Regions from separate parts of the Homo sapiens genome. Here regions 1 and 2 are each linked to region 3. The links are contacts of gene promoters, found by promoter capture Hi-C in human tissues and cell types (Jung and others, 2019). All regions are on one chromosome and are shown on one strand. The core of a region is centred on a gene start or on the middle of the fragment in contact, and the rest is flanking DNA. Distances in the headings are between cores, read along the strand shown.

Evidence for each region. Contacts are between HindIII fragments. The study calls those that stand out against the background at their distance.
Region 1: a contact is called between a fragment that was not itself captured here and the fragment with the promoter of DCLK1 in region 3, in 3 of the 25 tissues and cell types used here (bladder, dorsolateral prefrontal cortex and liver).
Region 2: a contact is called between a fragment that was not itself captured here and the fragment with the promoter of DCLK1 in region 3, in 2 of the 25 tissues and cell types used here (bladder and psoas muscle).

The regions. Positions count from the first base shown.
Region 1 is chr13:36,095,534-36,098,233 of GRCh38, forward strand. The region is part of intron 3 of DCLK1 (doublecortin like kinase 1); the gene reads right to left. Among named protein-coding and RNA genes, the nearest start is that of DCLK1, 34 kb to the right of the region's middle. The HindIII fragment of the contact is 3,803 bases long and covers 1-2,700 here.
Region 2 is chr13:36,171,513-36,174,212 of GRCh38, forward strand. It overlaps CCDC169-SOHLH2 (CCDC169-SOHLH2 readthrough), which reads right to left. Exons shown (of 16, transcript NM_001198910.2): 14 at 2,180-2,298. SOHLH2 (spermatogenesis and oogenesis specific basic helix-loop-helix 2) reads right to left here. Exons shown (of 11, transcript NM_017826.3): 9 at 2,180-2,298. Among named protein-coding and RNA genes, the nearest start is that of DCLK1, 41 kb to the left of the region's middle. The HindIII fragment of the contact is 5,056 bases long and covers 1-2,700 here.
Region 3 is chr13:36,130,046-36,132,745 of GRCh38, forward strand. DCLK1 (doublecortin like kinase 1) reads right to left here and starts at 1,337. Exons shown (of 17, transcript NM_001330071.2): 1 at 1,069-1,337. The HindIII fragment of the contact is 11,041 bases long and covers 1-2,700 here.

The sequences.
Region 1 (2,700 bases), core at 32-2,531, 35 kb before region 3:
CAAATGTTTCCAAAAAACCACTACTTAATGCAAGAAAATTAAAGATGATCTAAAACAAGACTTGATTTATGTCACCGGATAAGTAAATATCATGGACATATAAATTCCACCACCCCTTCCCCCAAAATATGAGAGTCAAAGACTGAACACTGCTGAGAAACATAGTAGAAAAATTAAATGCTACCTCATCTGAGAAGCATAACTTTCTTGAGGATATGGCCATAGCAGTCATAAGATTCTCAAAGGGGAATGCAAGCCCCAAAATTTAAGAGCCATTGTTGTAGATAAAATAAGAAAAACTAAATTAAAGATAGAGGATTTTGTCTTAAATTCCTGGAATTAAAAGAATTTTTCCATTTCATTGATATTATTTTCTGTTGTCAGCTTTAGCTAAAGGAAATTACAATAAACCATATAATAAACAAACTAAATCACTATTTTATTTAATTTCAATTTAATAATAAGACCTATATAATAAAGCCCCCAAAAGAGAGGGTTAAAAACTATAAACAAGTTCCATTGGTTTTGAAAGGGTTTTTTGTATGTAATTTTCTTTAATGTAGCTAACCACCACCAAAACCCCTTTGGTTCTTTGGAGAGACAGATTACCAAGAAGGAGGTCAGAAAGGGAGAAAAATCTGGGAAGCAATCTCAGTTCCTCACTAACCTCAGAACTATGCCTAGATATAAGCCCAAGGCCTTTGAATCTCAGCCAGAGACCAGCTTTTCTTTCCCATCTTGTAAGAGGCTTCACAGGGGAGACCGGTCCTTGTTTTTGGTTTAGAGATGGCCTTGAACAAGAAAAAGAAGATAAGTATACACTGAATACACAATCTTTTCTGGAATCCAAAGGCCAGCAGCATCTTAACACTGAAGTACAAAGGCATTTTCAATGATGGTTCAGTGAACATAATCCCCCAGGTGCAGCTTTACTGTACGGCAGAATATTAAAATGCACAATTAAGTCTCTTTCCTTGAGAAGAAAGAAATAGGTAATCTTTTAAAAGTCCTCAAAGATCTTGAATAGCAAAGTGATGAAAGGACAAGTGGGAAACTCACCATGAAGAGGGAATGACAGAGATTATGAAATAATTGGATCTCATCCAAGGAACAGACAAAGCACATGGAAGCCATATTTTAACTATGAAATGCAAAAAGATATACACAGCTTGAAATATGTTAATATCATGTGAAACCTAATCAGCTTATAAATGGTATTTTGGACTGTAACAAAGCAAATGTCACCAAATGGGGCCCCAAGAAGGTAGGAGAGAAGAATAGACCCCAAGGAAGCATCCCTAGGGCTTAGAAGACAGTAATTATTCCATCCTGCCATGAACATGAAAGCTTTCTTCTCCTGGATACCTAAGTCTGGAGTGAGCTCAGAAATGCCGTATGTGCAAAGAGTGCAAAGATAATAAGTGGCTCACAGTGCTGAAACTGGCTACATAACCTCTGTAATAAGTTACTTATAAAACCTCAATAAAACCCAGAGCTAGTCAAACCGAGCTGGAGAGGATGGAGGCTACAGTTACAGGTTAAAGGCGATGAACTTAGTGAATCCATAATTACACAAATGACTTAGAAGGTAGAAAGGAGACTTTTCTATAAAAGCAGATAGAAAAATGAGGTCAACATTTAAAAGCTGATGTGACTAATAAGCAGATCAGTGGCTGCTGGGCTAGGGGTGGGAGCCCAGATTGACTGCAAATGCAGATGAAGGAACTTTCTTGGTCAAAGTGTCTAACACTGGAATGTGGTGATGGTTGCATGATTCTATGCATTTATTAAAATCATTAAATAATATACTTAAAATGGGTGCTTTTTGTAGTACGAAAATTATAGCTTAATAAAGCTGTAATCATTTTTTATTTTAAAGTTGACATGTTTTTAAATTTTGCGATATTCACACTCTATAAAATAGTTGTACTGTATATCTCTGTGATGTGTTAGTTACATTAAAAATGTTCTTTTTCCACTATTGGGAATATAAATTTTTATAATAATCTAAAGTAAGATTCTTAAGTTTTTAAAATTACTCTAAATGGATTATTTTCATAATCATTAACAATCCAAATAGGAATCAAAATAGCAAGAAACACTTAGAAGAAATTGAAAGAAGACATTTCAGTAGCTTTCTCAACATTTACTGTCTTTTGGCAACCCAGTCTAACCCTTTTAACAGGGTAGTATATTAATCTCAATGTGTTTAAAGACTGACAAATCACAGGAATTTGATAATTTCAGAAGAAAAGTATTTTTAAACTCCAGCAGGCACACCAATAAAGCTCAGCAATAAATTGTGAGCATTCTTACCAAAAAAAAAAAGATGCACATGAATTTTATATACTTAAAGTATTTGGAAAACACTATATAATGTCAGATATGACACTGTGGTTAAGAATGTCAGTCTGCCTTGACCAGGTACTAATCACTTGGGCCAGTTACTTTCCCCCTGATTCTGCATCTGTGAAAGGGAGATAACAATAGTATCTACTCCCATAATACTGTTAATGGGGTAAAAAATCGAAATTTTAGTTAGTGCCTGGCATACGGTAAACATTCAAGAAACACTAGCTGCTATTCTACATTTATTGATATTATCCCTGGGCTGGATTCAACATACAAGATGATTTTATTCTTTTCTACAAAGCCTCACCCCCAGGGACAGATCCGGTCCTTTACCTTCCTGGAATGCCA
Region 2 (2,700 bases), core at 120-2,619, 42 kb after region 3:
CTGATTGCAACTTCTCTGATCCTCTTTCCAAAACAATTTGGCAACATGCATTAAGAGCCTATACATACATTCACGTTCTCTGTTCTCTAAGTCACCCATCACACTCTTCCAGGAACCCATTATACTCTTCCAGGAATCCAGTCCAAGGAAAAGTCCAAAATACAGAAAACTTCATATATGGGAAAATATTTCCTATCATATGATGTAAAAAATCACTCTCTCCCCAAACTGCAAATGCTAAATGTAGCGACTGGAAAATGGCTAAGAAAATTACTCTACCCTTGATAAATGATTAAAACTATTAAAATGGTGATGAGTGATGCATAACAACAAATATACATATGTATGACACAAAGTTAAGTAAAAAAATTCAAGAAACAAAATGGGATATCCAATGATTACTACTATAGAAAAATATATCTGGAAGAAGACTTGAAGGAAATACATTAAAAAATGAACACGGTGATTATCTTATCCAGGTTAGTAAAGGATCGGCACTGGTTTTCAAACGCAAAAATGTATTTACATCAAATAAAAATGGCAGTTTTGACTCCTTAACCTTCAAGGCCTCCTAGGGTTTGAACCTACCACAGGTCTATTCCTAGCATATCTCTGGCTTCCCAAGATTGGTCTCCTTAGGGGAGGCAGTGTCTTGAAATGCTGGGGCATAGAAAGGCCTGAACTCGCTGCCACGAAAATAATGTTTCAGAGTTTCTGCAGGACATAAATAGTATTGTATGTACAAAAAAATAACATTGACAGGCATATGCCTGTGGCCTGATCTCTATCTGATTTAATCTAAGCTGATTTAATCATTCCATGTCACATTCAGCCACTGCTACTTATGGCAATTTTTTTTTCTTCTCCTCTCTTCTCTCCTCTAAGTTGGGAGAAAAGTCTAAACTGACTAAAATAACACCCTGAGGCTTCTTTGGTGATATGAAGAATCAGGGCTGGGTTCTATCTGGGGGTCCCTGCTCTTTTGACTTTAGACACTATGCTGCATAACCTTCATTTGTTCCCATGGCTTCCGCCACATCCCCATCTGTGCATGGTTCCTCTACTACAGCACTTACAAGACTGTCTGGGCCATAATTTCTTTTGTGACCCTTTCTACCACTAAGTTGTGAGCTCCATAAGAACAAGAACTGCCTTTTATTCATCTTTGTGTCCCCATCTTTGAGGCAGGGACATTTAAGCTGAGAACTAGGGATGGACTTGGTACTAACTAGCGCAGGTGAGGGAGGAAGGACATTCCTGGTACAAGGGAGGTGCTTGGTGAGAGCAGAGCCTGTTGGAGGAAGTCAGAAGTGTCATCTAGGACTGAGAGGCTGAGGAGAGAGGCAGTCCTGTCATCTAGCGTCTAACATTTAGGTCAAGAGGTCCATACCTTCCTGGTTTCTAGACGGAGAGTAACTTTATCTTCAGGAATACTAAAAGTCACAAACTGCTAGCTGTGTTCTTTTCCTCTATTTTTTTCCATCTTGTTATTTCAGGTACACGGGCATGTCTAGGCTTATACGGCACATATAACAAAAATGCCTCCCAGCGGGAAAGCATTTGTTCCACAATGAATATTCACATAATGAGATTTCTTGAGCCCCTCCTGTATGTTGGTCATTGTTCTAGGTACTAGAAATACAGCAATGAATAAAACCAGCCAAAAAATTCCCTGCCTTCATGGAGGTGACATTCTAATGGAAGATAGGCAACAAACAAAACACACAAGTAAAGAATAGCAGAAGGCAGTGAGTGCTATCAAGACAAATACAGCAGAGAAAGTGGCTGAGAAGATCTCTTTGAGAGGTGACATGCAAGCAAAGGCATGAAGGAGGTAAATAAATATGTTAAATGCTCAGGACACAGTCAGTCCTGAAATTATACGAATACTTCCCCTCCCCTGAGATTCTATTCATATTATAAACAAAGTCACCAGTGTGCTTATCATCTATCAACAGAATGAGCTTTCTGGTAATTACGGTCAATTTTGAGCCCAGTTTCTGGCATAACACTATTTAAACAACTGTAGCCACCTTGTGTACCTGAGGCTGACAATACCAGAAGGACTCATCAGCTCTCCTGGATTCCCTGGTTATGGTGGTGAATGCACAGGAGCCTGGGGGTTTGCAGGGCAGGGCAGGTCCCCCTCTAAGTGGCACAGATGCTAGGAGAAGCTCACCTCTCACAGCTTCATCCAAGGAGCTCTCTGCATCAGGAGTGGAGCACCCATTCCAGCACGTATTAGTCAGGAATTGGAGCCCTCTCTCAGGGGAGTAAGTGCTCATCACACTGTTTTCCCTTGAAAGGACAGAAAAAATTATTTGCACATTTTTCAAGGAAAACAATGTGGACACTGCTGAGTTCAATTGCCCTTTTATCATTCAAGTTCTAAAAACACTGATAAAGCCTCAACTATGGATTATTTACATATGAGCAAAGACACATGACCCACGATAATTCCTTAGGATGTGCAGGAATGATGTGCTTTTTCTCCAGTTTCTCTTTGTTTACATATTCTGATCAATCTAGAGAAGAAAGTAATCATTTGGGAAGTCACATTTTGCACTAATGACCTGCTTTAAGCACCACTAATTGAAATAGGGCTGGACAGCTCCAGGGCCCGAGACCTCTCCACAATGGAGGAACACCAGAAGCCATCACGTCCCTGCTGGACCACCACCATCCCTACACTCACAAGGG
Region 3 (2,700 bases), core at 87-2,586:
ATTCAGGTGGACTGGCATGAAATAAAACGCACACATACCTTCCAGGCCCGTGCACCACCACGGACGTAGACATCACAGGGTGTGTGCATATCTTTTATAATTTTCCTCTATATGACCTCTCTTAAAAAATCCCTTCTGACCTGCATCCATGTGACATTTCATACTTAAAACGCTGTCCTACTTTCCTTTCCCACTGAAAGGCAATATATTTAGGAACAGTCATAAAATGTATTCACGGAACAGCCTGCAGTGTGGTCGCTGAACGTGTGTGCACCGTGCCTGGACACACTCACAGGTGCAGCAGAGAGGGAGCCGGTTTGAATGAAACCTTTCATCTTCTCTCTCACCGACCAAGCATCTCCTTGCCAAATCCAGGAGCAATTCCGCGCAAACCTGGTTTTCAAAAGCAGCCTCTTTTGTGGGGCATTGCGGGGCTGTGCGTGCGCTCCCACTAGGAGGAAAAAATGCCATTTCCTCTCCGCAAGCTTTTAGCACTGCAGGTACTAATTTGAACATGAGGCAGCCTCGCTGTCCCTGAAGGAACTTGAGACCCTGCAAACGTACTTGCAACACCCACGCTGCAGCCACCACCACGCACGAATCGACCCCATCCACAAGCACACATCACTGGCCCGGGCACACGGAAAAGCACACACACAATAAGAGGCCGGGCCCGGCCACTCCTTCCTTGGTTCCCGCTCCGCAGCCAGTTCTGACAATGACAAGCACCTCTCCCAGCTCCTCCGCCCTGGCTCTCCATCTCCACTAACAACGCGAAAAGCCTGGGAGGGCCCGCTCGCCTGACTCCAGGTTTAAAGCCCCATGGCACCAAACAAAAGAGGCAGGTGCCAGCAGCCCCGGGGCCGCCCGCACGCAACGCCCCCGGGTCGGGCCAGGCTGGCCAGGGCAGGGCGGCCGCCTTTCGAGGAACTGCGGGCGGGGCGGCGGGGCCAAGCTGAGCGCCCGCCCTGCCCTCGGCGCCCCGCGGCTGCGGGCGGAGCGGGCTCTGCGGAGTCCCCCGGCCGCCCTCCCCGCAGCTCCCGTCCCCAGGGAAGGCAAACCACGCACCGGTCCGCGGAGAGACGCCGCCGGGGGTCTTTGTGGCCGCGCTGGGGGCCGCCTCCTGGTGCTGTCCTCGCCGGGCTGGGCGCGGCCGGGGCTGCGGGGCTGCAGGGCTGGGGGGCGGCGGCGGGGCCGGGCTGGGCGGCAGCAGCTGCTGGAGCGCGGCGCCTCGGTTGCGGCCACTAGTGCAGGGATGTGCCTCGGCCCGTCCTCATTGAAATGCGGCGCTTCGCACAGCCTCACTCCAGCCTCTCTCTCCAGAGGAGGGCGGCGGCGGCGGCGGCGGCGGGCGCGCTCCCTTTTCTTGTCTCACTCGCTCACACGCCCTCCCGTCTCCCTCCTCCTCCTCCTCCTCCGCGTGCGCGCCCCGTCGCCCCCGCCCTTCTTGGCAGGGCGCACCCACCACGGCTGCGCCCCAGGTCCTCCTCCCTCCCAGCGCCCTCTTCCCACCGCAGCAACCTCGGTGCATCTGGCTTGACTACACCCCTAAACCTCCCTAGTCCCCACAAGTAGTCTTTGGGAGATGGGGGCAGATCAGATGGTGGAAGAGAACGTGGACAGGGCTGAGTCTGAGCCAGGAAGTGTGCAAGGCACAGAGGTGATATGGCCGAGAGATGAGGCCCCCACCGTCGGGGGAGGGAAGGAGGTACCCACACTCATACCTTTTGATGTGACCTCACGGTCTGACACCTTTCCCAGGGTATGGAAGCCAGTGGATCACCTTCTCATCCTTTTTGCCCGGGATGCACCCACGCAGTGCCTCTTCGGATGACCAACCCTCCCAAGCTATGCACTCTGGTGCCCCCCACATTGGGAAGAGCTGGATCTGTTCATGGATCCCACCCATCATCTCCACTTAACCCCAAGACATGAGTCACTCTTGGAATAGTGACCTCTGCTTAGAGTCAAATATGTTCCAAAGGGCCCTTGAGAACTGAAGGGCCAGGTTTCACTGCTGGACACTTTGTGGCTGCCAAGGCTGGGTCTGCGGTGGAAAGCCCCATGAGCTCATGCGAGCCTCTCCTCCCAGAGGGGGAATGTTCTCCTAGCCCAGGCTGTTCACAGCTTCCTCCAGTCTTTGCACAAAAGTCCAGGGAGTGGGAGCAGCTCCCAGATTTCGGTGAAATCTTAGACTGGCTCAGTACGCAGCCTGAATTTTGATCCAGTTAATCTGACTTTCAATCCTGTCGTCCACAACCTGTGTTTGTCCCAAATACACATGAGTATACAAAATACACATAAGTATTTTTCTCTCTTCCTGAGCCTACACCTTTCAATGGAACATTAAAATTTTATTTTTCTCTTGCCCATTGATCCCAGTTATGTGTTTGACTACTTATTATTAAAAAGTTCTATTCTGAAATACTTTCCAAGTATGATGTAAATGTTAAATAATTACCATTTGTTTTAAAACACAGCTCAAATGAGATCCATGCTACATATTCCACAAGTGATGCGATATTTATTTTTGAACTATTTAATAGCCCAGAGATGAGAGTACAGTGAACTCACCAAATTAACTAAATGCAAAGTAGTAAGCCTATTCTTTCACATTCTGAGGCAAAATGAGAGCCATAGGGGTAAATTAAGAGAAAGGAAGAAGCCAAGTACATCTTCTGGAGAACAGAAATCAGAGCT